4 separate regions of the Homo sapiens genome follow, and all the other regions are linked to region 4. Evidence: promoter capture Hi-C in 16 types of primary human blood cells and fetal thymus (Javierre and others, 2016). All regions are on one chromosome and are shown on one strand. Each heading gives the region's core, a stretch centred on a gene start or on the middle of the fragment in contact. The rest is flanking DNA. Distances are from core to core; before and after follow the strand shown.

Region 1 (2,844 bases), core at 301-2,800, 280 kb before region 4:
TAAACGTGTGTATACATGTCTATATAAGTATATAATTCTTAAATCACAGGCAAAACTGAAGTTTTCATTCAAATTAATTTTTAAACTAAGTAACTTTATAGAAAATGCTCTAAAAACCACAATTGAGCTGTCTGTACAACATGTTCAAACTTGCTTTGAGAATGTTGGAATCCAGTGACTAATTTTGCCAGTGCCTTGGAAGAGAAAGAACCACAAGACACAAAGACACAATAGAGAAGCAAAGACGAAGCTGGGGAGCTGCATGAGGGAGGAAATAAAGCCCATCTCGCCAGCTCACAAACAAAGCCACCAGCATGTGAACCTGGGGCTCGTGAATTCACAGTTCCAACTATTTTCCTCTGGGTCCTGGGATAAATAAACCTCACTTTATAACCATTATTTCTGACAGTCCAAGCCTTTCTAAAGGAAGCAAAGACCCACGGTTCTTATCCATCCAGAAGATTTCTTTTAAAATCCGATTGCCTTCACTCCACTATAAAGATGGCGTATTTGGGAGGGAAGCTCAGGAGGAGGAGCATGCAGAAGCGGGAAGCCACACAAAAGCTCTGGAGAGCAGCCATGGCGCACATCGCACCGCCCGCGTCTCAAACACCCCCTAAAGGACGCCCAGGTTGCTTCAAGACAAGAGAGACTCAGGCAAACCTCCCCTCTTAAACCCTCTAAGGATGAACCTGGAAGCAAGCACAGAGCTCCACCTCTGCCACCAACCAGATGACCTGCAAAGGCGGAGGGTGGAATTCCGAGGCCCCTCAATTCAATCTTCCTCTCACGGAGGACCTTCTCAGCCACCACTGTCTGGCTGGGGGCCTCACCCTAGCACCCATCCCCGACTCCCAGTCCTGTCTCCCACCTGGAGCTCCAGCGGCACCACAAGGGCACTTTCACAGCTCCCTCCTGGTGACGCCACCTCTTCCTCCTGCCCCCCAAGTCCTAGGAATAGTGGCTGCTTCCTGCAGCTACTGACCCCTGGGTACCTCAGCACTCCCTCTCAGCTCTCTGGTGGCATCCCTCCTGTGACCAACAGTGTGTGTGTGCACGCACGAGAGCCAACATGGTTCGGGTGGTGCTGCGCTGGCCTCAAGAGATGGCTCAATGTAGACGAAAGATGTCACAAGTTTCTTCCACTGCTGATCCGAGGAGTGCGCTTGTCCTGGGTGATAACACAAGTTACCACCACGGGTGTGCAGAGCCTCTGGAGGTGCCGCGTGGGCCCAGCCTCAGCCTCACTTGCTTCCCCACCCGAGTGTGCCCTGCCCTGCCGGCCTCTTGGGAGAAATAAGAATGAGCGACACCAGCCACAGAAGCCTCAGGGAGGAACCTCTGGTCAATTCCTGCGTGGGCCTGAAGCCACTTCCCTCTTAATTTTTTTTTAATTGTGGTAAAATACACATAACATAAAACTTGCCATCTTTACCATTTCTAAGGACACCACGTATATTCACATTATTGTGCAACCATCACCACCACCCATCTCCAGAACCTTCCACCTTCGTAAACTGAAACTCCATTTCCATTCAACACTAACTCCAAATTCACCCCCCGCCCCCGGCAACCACCAACTACTTGCTACCTCTAAGAAGCGACTGTTCTGGTCCCCCGTATCAGAGGAATCACACAGTGTTCACACAGTACCTCTGAGTACCTCACGCAGTACCTCTGAGTACCTCACGCAGTACCTCTGAGTACCTCACGCAGTACCTCTGAGTACCTCATACAGTACTTCTAAGAAGCGACTGTTCTGGTCCCTCGTGTTAGAGGAATCACGCAGTCTGCTTCTGTGACTGGCTCACTTCACTGAGCGCAACGTCCTCCAGGCTTATCCGTGTTGTGGGGCGTGTCAAGCGTTCTTCCTTAAGGCTGAATAATATTCCACTGTCCATGGACAGATCACATTTTGCTTATCCGTTCAGCTGACAATGGACCCCCAAACTGCTTCCAGATTTGAGTTATAATGAATAATGCTGCTATGACACGAGTGTACCCCGGACCCCGCTTTCAGTTCTTTTGGGCACACGCTCAGAAGTGGAACCGCTGGATTGGATGGAAGTCCTAGTTTCAACTTTTTGAGGAACCCACACGCTGTTTTCCTTCACGGCTGTGCCATTTTACATTCCCAGCAGCAAGGCACAAAGTTTCAGTTGCTCCACGCCGTCACCCACGCTTGTTTTCTGTTTGGAGGGTCTTGGTAGTTTTCCTCTCTCGTGAGCACTACTCAATTATTTCCATTAACGAAATCTACACACTCTTCTCAGAAGGATAAAACTTCACATTATCGCAACAAAACAGCACGCCAGGTAGACATTTGCACCGCGTGCAACTGCTCCTAATCCTGGTGGCACCACGCACCTTGAAGTCTGCTACTGAAGAACTGAGGGCCAGGCAGGTGAGGCCACAGGGTCACAACTGGACTCAACCCTGCCAGCCTAGGTGTCTCAGAAAACGTGCAGAATCTCGCTGACCCAAACGCCCAGCTGTGGGCTGTGCGGGTCAGGGAGTGACTCCGCCCTGCCGAGCATCTGAGGAGAGAATCCATCCCACTGGCGGGCAGATGAAGGCACAAGCTGAAGCCCCCAGCTGTTCCGTGATCCTGACACACACAGGTGGAGAGGGGTGGCACAGAGTCGCACTCAAGGGATCCCAGCCTCCTGATGTTCCGGGTTTGCTGCCTAATTCCTTCTTTTCAAAAACTAAAAGTAAAGACCTTGTGTATAGACACTAACGTTTAACTTCAGTATTTTAAAAAAATCTAAAAGTGAAGCCTGCCCTCATGGTGGTGGCGAAGGCAGCAGCAGAGTAAGGCGAACACACACTAGAGGCTTCCCT
Region 2 (2,994 bases), core at 368-2,867, 400 kb after region 4:
GATGAAGGGGCCCCCTCTCATGCCCCCCACACTTGCACAACCCCATCAGGGACAGTGGCCTCCAAGGCCTGCAGGAAGACAGGACAGCCCCTCCTGAGTCTGGGGCACAGTTACCCCTTCCTAGGAGAAACTGCGCGGCTCCGGGGCTGACCCATGGGTGCTTCCAGGGTTCACCCCTCAGTGCTGGGCATGGCTGGGGCGGGCAGGGGATTCCCATCTGGGAAGGGTCCTTCCAGTCATCCATGGGACAAGGAATGTCCTAAGGCTTCTGGAACTCCCCCTTGTCCCTGCCTGCCACTCACTGGCTGTAAGCCCTTGAGGTCACACTGCCTCTCTGGGTCCCACAAAGTGGCATGGATCCTTCCTGTGCCCACCAATGCCGCTGCCTTCTCTTTCCACGATTACTTGAGGCCATATGCTTAAAGGACCTCTCAGCAGCATTCCACCGGAGAGGAATGTGAGGGTGACGATCCTGCTTGGGACTCGGCTGCAGGGGGATCCGCACACGGGCGCTGATGTCGGCCCTGCCCCCCAGCAAGTCCATGAGCTTTCCCGTGGGCCTCAGGGGCACAGCCCTCCACAGGCCAAACCCCTGCCAGGTGGCACCACTGCTGTCTGGGGACCGACACAGGGAACTCCACGTGTAAAGTCCAGGCCTTGGGACGGAGACAGCTGTGTCTGGGGACCACACTGGCCAGACACTTGGTGATAAATATTTGCTGGCCTGGACTCTTCTTCACAGAGAATGTGACAGAAACAGCCCAGCTGTCCCACTGCCTGCAAGATGAGGGATGCGGGGACGTGCAGGAGGCAGCTTGGGGAACGGTGGCGGGCAGCAGGAGGGTTGGGTGGACTCAGTGTCAAGGTCAGGATGCACCGAGTCTACCGTGCAGCACATGCTCTGAGCCACTCTTATTTCCTCTGAGTGAGGTGCAGCTGGCACCCAGGGAGCAGCACACATCTTAAATCTTTGCCGGGTGAGCTCCGAGCTCGGGCAGGCCCAGGAGCCCTTCGCGTCGAAGCGTGGCCGTTCCAAGCCCTGGAAGCCGTCTCTGCTGCACAGGGACTGCCGTCTGTGCTGGTGTGCACCCCAGGGTGAGTCCTGCCTGCCCTTGAGCTTCACGTAGACAGCATCATGCCGACCTCCTCCTGCCCTGCAGCCCACGTGCGAGATCATCCCTGGCGTGTGTGGTAGACACTCCCTGAAGGGACACGCCATCTGTGGCCCGTCGCCCACTGCCCTGCTGATGGGAATGTGGGCTGTGTCCAGTCTGGGCTCCCAGGAAGGCCTTTGTGTGTCTTTTGCTTAGTGTCTGTGTGTTTCTGTTGAGAGTGGGGTTTCTGGGTGGTGATGGAGGCGTGTCTGGAGTTTTCCACAGTGGCCGTGCATTCCACGGACCTCCAGTTGTGTGGGGAGGTACAGCGGCTGTGAGCATCTGGCCAGCACACCGTGGTGTCCCCGGCACACTGCCGACGGCGCGCGTCCCCCGGCGAGGTGGCATCTCCACGTGCTCCTCCATGTTAGTTCAAGTCTTTGCCCTCTTGTCCTCCGGGTTCAGCGTTTCCTTGCTGGTCTGTAAGCCGTCTTCGTGTGATCCGGACACTGCCGGTGGGGGGGCCCTGTGGACGGCAGGTGCCCACCCAGCTGCACCCGGGCTTGCTCCCCTGCCCTTGAGAGCGTCTTCTGAGAAAGAGAAGTGTGTCATTTTAGTGAAGACCACTTTGTCAGCCTTTCTCTTATGAAGAGCATGTTTGGGGCTGTGGCAGGGTCTGCAGCCATGATTCTGAGTGTCAATCTGTGCTCTCTGGCTTTGGGGCCGTGGAGGGTCCCCTCAGCCCCAGGGGGATCCACTGCACTCTGGGGGTGAAATTCAGGGGACCTGGTCAGGCCCTGCCAGCTGGGCAGAAAGGCCCTTGAGTGACCCCAATGACAGGCTGTTGACCTATGGGGGGGTCCCAGCTGCCTGGGCCATGGTGACACCTGTGCGCCTTCAGCCAGCTCAGACTGGATTTTTGCGGGGAGGCAGAAGCAGCCACAGGGGGCAGGTGGCCTGAGGGGAGGCCTGAGGCTACAGGGCCCAAAGCTGGGCACCGCCCCCCAGCCTGCCCATCACAGGACAGCGCCGGTGGACCCCATTTGTCCATTGCCTGGAAGGAATCGGGCGTGTTCTGGTCTGCACCCTGACATGCAGCCCTCCAGAGCCACCGCGTGCCTGGGATGGGGCTGTGTGGGTGGGGAGCCTGGCACGGGGTGGCTGAAAGGGTGCTGGGGAGAGGAAGGTGGCTCAAAGTCCGTTGTTCCCGTGCTTCCTGAAACGGTCGCTGCCCGACGGTCAGGGCTGAACCTCACCGCCCAACCAGGACCACAGCACCATGGGCGGCGAGCCGGCCGCACACAGCTGGAGGGGGTCATGGTGCAGCCAAGGCAGCACCAGAGCTTTCCAAAGGGCTTGTGTAACCTCGGCGTCACCCGGGCAGGGATGTGTGCGTGCCTGCGGCGTCCCCTGGGAGCTGGGGCCCTAGCGGGTGTCTGGGTACTGCTGTGCGGGGTGGGATCACGGGGTCCTCACCTTTAACGAGTGCTGGCCCTGATGAGCAAGTCCAGAAAACTCACCCCAAAAGGGCTCTGGGAAAAAGTGGCGGTAACTGAGGCCGGGCTTTGCAGTCCAGGTTCCCAGCTGAATGTTTAGAAAACGCAGGGGAGGTTGTGCAGGTGCTTCTCTGATCCCAGCAGAAAGCTGTAAAATGCAAAGCTGATGGCAGAACTCAGCCTTCCAGCGCTGCAAAAGCGACTCTGGCCCCTGCCTGTGTCGGCTCTCATCAGGAGGGCTTCGAGCTGCTGCAGACTGAGGGTGAGCACACCAGATGCGGGGCCACAAAACGAGGCAGGGCCCTCCTTTCGGGAGCAGTCGTCTGTGCCCCTCCCTCTCCCCCAGAACATTCCTCTGGGGAGGTCTGGCTCTGGGTGCTCAGTGTGGGTTGTGAGCCCCTCCC
Region 3 (2,959 bases), core at 388-2,887, 380 kb after region 4:
TCTCAGCCTGGGTGACAGAGTGAGACCCTGTCTCAAAAAAGTAATTAATTAATTTAATTAAATAAAGAAGTTACAGGCAAAGGCATAAATCAGTACATGGAAAGTATACATTGATTCGGTGGGAAATGAGGGACATCTTGAAGGGGAGCAGAGAGATTTAAATGTTTTCTGATTAGTATTTGGGTGAAAGAGTTAAGCTGAAGACGTGAAGGCTTGCAGTGGGTGGAAAGAATCACTTGGCTTCAGCTGAGGGGCTGTGGAGACCAAGGTGCTGGTGACGTAGAAGCCTCCAGGAGGCGGCCCCGAGAGGACAGAGGGCAGGCAGGGCCTTCAAATGTGTGGGGACTCCTGGCGGGTCTCTCCGGGTGTGGGACCCTCGGCGGGTCTCTCCGGGTCGGAGGGACTCTCGGTGGGTCTCTATACCAGGGTCAGGCTGGATTTGGGGTCTTACCGCCACAGAGTCTGTTCTGCCGTCTTTGGATAACTATTTTGGAGTTAGTGTGGGTCAGCTGCACCTGAACTCCTAAAGGCGGGGGCGGGGGGGGTGGCGGGGTGGGCCGTGATGAGGAGAGTCCCTCCTCCCTTCTGTCACCGTGGGAATTTAGTGTTTCCTGTTGCCCTGGGTCCCCTTGTCCAAGAGGGGTGTTCCGTTCATTTGTCTGTGGGACTTTGGATTTTGTTTTTAGTTTACAAAAGAAAGGAAATTCAGACACACACTGCCACATGGATGGAGGCTGAGGACATTGTGTGAACGAAATAAGCCTGTCGATGAAAAGAGCGAAAGTCTGTGAAATATTTGAAGAGATTGATTCTGAGCCACACAGAGTGACTGTGCAGTGACACGGCCCTCGGGAGGTGGGCGGGTGCAGCTGGGCCTTAGTTCAGGCGGGCATGAGACATTTAAGATATACATTGGTCAGGTCCAGAAAGGCGGGACAGCTCCAAGTGGGGCTTCCAGGTCATAGGTAGATTTAAAAATGTTCTGATTGGCAATTGTTTGGGAGTTACTATCAATAGAAAGGATTGTCTGGGTTAGGGTAAGGGGCTGTGGAGGCCAAGGTTTCATCATGCAGGTGAAGCCTCCAGGTAGCAGGCTCCAGAGAGAAGAGATTGTATGGTGTTTCTTACCAGACTTAAGGTCTGTGTTGATGTTACTGCTGGTCGGCTTTTCCTAAATTCCGAAAGGGAGGAGGGCGGCATGAGGCATGGCCGACCACCGCTTCCCGTCGTGGCCTGAAGCAGTCTTTCTGGTTAACGTTGGGGTGTCCTGGCCCAGAGGAGGGGTCCATCCAGACGGTCGGGGAGGAGCCTTAGAATTTTATTTTTTGTTTACACTGCAGAGATGGCTTTGAACACCTCTCAGCAGGCCACCACTGCTCCCACCCACATGCAGGCACCCCAGGCTTCATTCCACGGCCAGGTCAGAGGGACCCAGGCCTGGAGGTCCGTGGTCACTGGCCCAGGTGGTCACCTCCAGGGGTCACCAGCATCTGGGCTCCCACAACTCCACTCCAAAAGCCCACCTGCTGGCAGGTCCCTGAGGTCTCATCACAGACCTGGAGACTCTCCCAGAGGAGCCTCAAGAAGGTGGGTGACCAGGGAATGGCCCCTCCTGCTGGGAGCAGGTTCCAGGGAGAGCCTTTGGGAATGAGGAGGGATGGGGCAGCCAGACACAGAAAGGTCAATCCTGCAGAATAACAGTTGCAGGCAGAGCCTGGAGTTGTCAAATTCTGGGAGACGGAGGCAGAACGGGGACTGCCAGGGGCTGGGGGAGGGGAATGGGAGTCAGTTTAATGGGTGCAGAGCTGCAGTTTTGCAAAGGAAGTTCTGGAGAAGGATGGCGGTGATGGTTTTACAGCATTGTGACTGCATTTAATGCCACTGAACTGCTCACCCAAAAATGGTAAAAATGGTAAAATGTTATGTGTATTTTATCACAATACAAAAAATACCAAAAAGAAAATGCAAGCAGACAGTAGGGGCCTAGAGATAAACTAAACCCTCCCGCACCCCCAGCCCCTTCCTTCTGCAGAGGACAGAGGCGCTTGATCCTGGCCTCTAGTTTTCTGAGAGGAGGCCAGTTTGATTAAATCAATTCACACCTAGGCAGGCTCTCCAGGGAGGGGGTCCTGTTTAATCTAAATTACTCTCTGCAAGGTGCTCTTTCAGGCCTCTTGGAAGAGATATTTTTGTCCAGGGACCTTCCTGTTTCAAATAACATCCTTTGTGAGCCCTTCCTGGCTGGTCCTGGAAAGGTCAGTGAAGGGGCTGGCAGCCTCTGACTTCCTGTGGGCAGATTCCAGGAAGGGGCAGCAAGCCTGGCCGCTAGGCAGCCTGCAGCCTCCGATGGCTCCTCAGTGCTCCAAGAGCAAGCACCTGGCCGCAATTACCCCGCTGGGCACTCGGGGCTTCTGCAGGGGCACCTCAGCTGGGAATTAGGGGGAGGGGTGACCACCCCAGCAGCTGTGTCCCCACAGGGAGGGGGTCTGCGGAACCGGCCATCATTTACTGCACAGACCGTGTGATGGACATGAGCCCTCGCTGGTCTTCCAGGCCCACTGGCAGCGGCCCCTGCCTGGCCCTTGTGGCCACTCACTGTCCTGTCTCCAGAGACCCCACACCCAAGTGTGAGGGCCGAGTTCTCGGCCAGGTTCCCTTTGAAGAAGGGGTGATCCCTGGGCCCCCTGCGGCCTCCAGCTGCTGTCCCACGCAGGCTCTCTCCAGCCCTCCAGGCCCGGCCTGGCCGTGCCGACAGCACATGCTCCTTCCCCAGCCCCGGCCCGGTTGGTCCAGTGGTGCTGGCTGCTGCTGTGGGTGCTGCACTTCCTTCCTCGGATGCAGTAAACTTCACGTTTTGCCTCAGGACGTTCCGAATCAGCCATGGGAATTGAACACTGGTTTAAAGCCACATTGGTGTCATCCCTGCTTTCTGCCGCTCGGAGGCCTGTGCATGCGCAGC
Region 4 (3,145 bases), core at 536-3,035:
GGACTTTTGCATCTTCTGGGGACACAGCCATGACTCTCTGGCAGCTCTCCCCATTGAATCTGGCTCTGCACCATCTCCAGCAGGTTTCCCCTCCGCCACACACCGCTTCCTGGCCTGTGCTTCTGGGAGGACCCCACTTTCATGGCTCTCCAAGTCCAGTCCTGAGGCTGCTCTCATCCCAGGACTGGGACACCCTAGGGCCCCTCCTCTCCAGAGCACTCAGGCAGCAGGTGGGGCCGCCTGGATCGCTGGGGTGCAGGTGCTGCCCTGTGGCTGGCAGGCTTTGTGTCCTGGGCTTTCTTGATGATCAGTTCGGTGAGGAGCCTTGGGTGGCCTCGGGTGCTGGGCTCTGGTTTTGGGGATCAGAGCAAGTGGCCACTAAAAGCCCAGGAGGTGGGTGCAACGCTGGTGGCTGGGCCACAGAGCCACCAATGCCCACCAGCACACAGGGCTCACCCCATCCCCGTGGGTGTGGCACTTGGGACAGGTGCTGCTGCTAGGCATGGGCTGGGACTCTTATGGGGCAGGAATATGGGCTGGGACTCTTATGGGGCAGGAATAAGGCCATGCAGCGGGTCTGGCCTGCCGGGGCCTTCTCTGTGCATGATATGTGGATGGCACAGACCCCTGGCCCTCACCCCGGTCTCAGACACAGAAGGGTCTCTGCCAGCCCGCTGCACTATGAGGTCCACAAGGGCGCAGGCAGGGTCATTGGAGGGGTCGGGGCACTCCCTGGCGTCTGCTGAGGATGGGGCCCAGCTGGGGCCAACACAGCAGTGACATCCCCAGGAGCCAGGACCCTGGGGGGTTGGCCAGGTGGCCCAAACCGGCTCTGTCTGGGTGAGGTCCGTTGGCCATGAAGGAACCAACAGGGCCAGCCGGGGTGAGGAAGCCGTGAGCACTGTGACCGAAGGCCTGCGTGAGTTCTGAAATCCAAGCGTGTTCACCCGGAGGCAGGAGCCCATCCTACTCTCGCTCCGGCTAATTATGGGCCCCACCCTGGGGCTCCTCACACGGCTCCTGAGCACCACAAGGGCAATGCCCGAGCCAAAGCAGCTACGGGTGAGAAAGCGCTGGGATCTCATCGCAGCCCCTGCACAACCAGCACGGACAGTCAGGGCCCCTATGTGCGCCTCCTGCCTGGGCCATCCCTGCGGGGCCTGAGGCCTGAGAGGTCCTGAGATCGGAGGGGTCCTGAGGTCTGAGGGGGTCCTGAGGCTTGAGGGGTCCTGAGATCTGAGGGGATCCCGAGGTCTGGGGGGTCCTAAGGTCGAGTGGACCTCAGGCGGGAGTCGCCTGGGCTGAGGCGCGGCTGGAAGAAGCTCCCTCAGCCCGGGGCAGCTTCCAGGGTCGCCGGTGCGAGCTAGGAGCCCAACGAATAAGAAGAATGGCGTGGGGCCTTCGCCGGAACAGCCCGGGGCTCGGCACCCAGGGCCTGGCCCGCCTTGCGCGTAAGCTGGACGCGTGCCCGCCCCTTCCTCCCTCCCCGCGAGCAGGCGGGCCGAGCGGCGGAAGGGGACGACGTGGCAGCCTCGCGGGCCCGGGGGACCTCCCTTTCTCCTGGCGCAGACCCTGCCGGGGATCCCTGTGCTCCAGTGGCTGCAGGAGGCGCCCCCGGTCCCCAGCGGCCCCGGCCCCCCACAGACCCCAGAGAAACCACCAGGTAGCGGAACTCCGGCTGGTGCCGCCCCTGCCGGCCGGCGGGAGGCGAGGCTTCCAGGGACGCCCCGCCCCGGCCGGCGCTCCCGCTCCGCCCACGTCACCTCCCGCGCCTGCGCGCCCGGCCCGCTCCAGCCGCCGCGCATCCTCGGCCCGCGCCCCGAGACCCGCGCCCAGCTAGCCCCGGCCCCGCTCGGCGCCCCAGGCAGCTCGGCTGCGCTCGCCGCGGGACGGCGCGGCCATGAGGCTGCGGGGATGCGGACCCCGGGCCGCCCCTGCCTCCAGCGCAGGGGCCAGCGACGCTCGGCTGCTGGCGCCCCCGGGGCGGAACCCCTTCGTGCACGAGCTGCGCCTCAGCGCCCTGCAGAAGGCCCAGGTGGGTGCCCAGGGCGCGCGGCCCCGGGAGCCGGCGCGGACGCCAGGGATGCTGGGGCCAGGGAGGCGCGGCCGAGGAGGGGCCGGGGAGGGGGCCTGGGGCGCGGCGCGGCCCTGCGAGCCGCGGCGCCTTCCCTCCCCGCGGCCGCCCCTCAGTTCGCGTCCCCGCCGCCCGCACCCGATGCCTCGGTCTCGGCGCCGGCTTCCCGCCGCCCGCACGCGCATCCTGGTCCCTCAGCGCCTTCCTCGGGGTCCCCGCTTCCCATCCCCGCCCCGCGTTCTGCTCCTCCCCCCAGACCCCTGCACCCTGAACCGGGCCCACAACCCTTTCTCTGCCTCCCAGAGCCCCGACCTCGGCTCCCGCGGGAGGCTGGACCCGCATCGCCGGTCCCCGCGCTCGTCCCTGGTCCGGGCCCCGCCCGCCTTGGCAGGCCCTGCGCGCAGCCCGGGGACTCCGGAGCGGCTTTGCCTGGACGCGGCCCGCGGGCGGGAGGGCACCGCGGCTCTGGGTGAGCCTCGTGTGCGGGGCCTGGTGGTGCCCGGGACAGGGCGCGCGGGCGGTGCGGGTCCCCTGTAGGGTCCCCTGTAGGCGCACGGGTCTCCCTGCTCTGCGGCCGCACGTTGCCTTCTGGGGTGCATGCTTCGCTCCTGTTGTAAGGGATGCTTTCTCGGGGCTGGTCTGACCCGAATCAACTTTATGCAACCTGGGCTGCCACGTGGGAGGGAACGGTTTGCTGAGATCCTGCGATGGGACAGTGGTGAGGGGAGACCCGGGGGCGTCGTGGGGAGGGGGCCGCTCGCTGCAGGAAGCTGCACCGGGGATGTGCTGGCTCAGCCTGGCTTTTCCGGCTACCTGGCTGCCAGCTGGGCTTACAGTTACCTGAGATCCACTCTCAAGAGGACCTTACTTTTGACTCTAGAATAATTCCTAGAAGCAAGCACTGTTTCGGGGCCTATGGGGCTGTCCGGTTTGTAGGGAGCACGCTTCCAATTGTGAGAATAGATTTCCGGGAAGATGGAGATTTGTTAATGCATAAAGTACTTTATCTGAAAGAACCCTGAAGTGAAAAGTTCTTGAGGCCAGTTTGAGCTTGTCATTTTCCCAGGACGC

What was found. Contacts are between HindIII fragments. The CHiCAGO score rates a contact against its expected background, and 5 or more counts as called.
Region 1: a contact is called between a fragment that was not itself captured here and the fragment with the promoter of LPCAT1 in region 4, in 1 of 17 cell types (neutrophils). The highest score is 7.0, in neutrophils.
Region 2: a fragment that was not itself captured here is called in contact with the fragment with the promoter of LPCAT1 in region 4 in 1 of 17 cell types (monocytes); the score reaches 7.9 in monocytes.
Region 3: a contact is called between a fragment that was not itself captured here and the fragment with the promoter of LPCAT1 in region 4, in 4 of 17 cell types (total CD8 T cells, total B cells, monocytes and 1 more). The highest score is 6.4, in total CD8 T cells.

The regions. Positions count from the first base shown.
Region 1 is chr5:1,806,000-1,808,843 of GRCh38, reverse strand. The region is part of intron 2 of NDUFS6 (NADH:ubiquinone oxidoreductase subunit S6); the gene reads right to left. Among named protein-coding and RNA genes, the nearest start is that of NDUFS6, 6.0 kb to the right of the region's middle. The HindIII fragment of the contact is 5,373 bases long and covers 1-2,844 here.
Region 2 is chr5:1,118,931-1,121,924 of GRCh38, reverse strand. It overlaps a transcript of SLC12A7 not described here. Among named protein-coding and RNA genes, the nearest start is that of SLC12A7, 8.4 kb to the right of the region's middle. RefSeq lists an enhancer at 2,372-2,905. The HindIII fragment of the contact is 6,930 bases long and covers 1-2,994 here.
Region 3 is chr5:1,144,837-1,147,795 of GRCh38, reverse strand. It overlaps a transcript of SLC12A7 not described here. Among named protein-coding and RNA genes, the nearest start is that of TERLR1, 32 kb to the left of the region's middle. The HindIII fragment of the contact is 9,090 bases long and covers 1-2,959 here.
Region 4 is chr5:1,522,600-1,525,744 of GRCh38, reverse strand. It overlaps LPCAT1 (lysophosphatidylcholine acyltransferase 1), which reads left to right and starts at 1,785. Exons shown (of 14, transcript NM_024830.5): 1 at 1,785-2,035. The coding sequence starts at 1,901. RefSeq lists a cis regulatory region at 393-628 and silencers at 1,398-1,797, 1,818-2,127, 2,398-2,597. The HindIII fragment of the contact is 5,602 bases long and covers 1-3,145 here.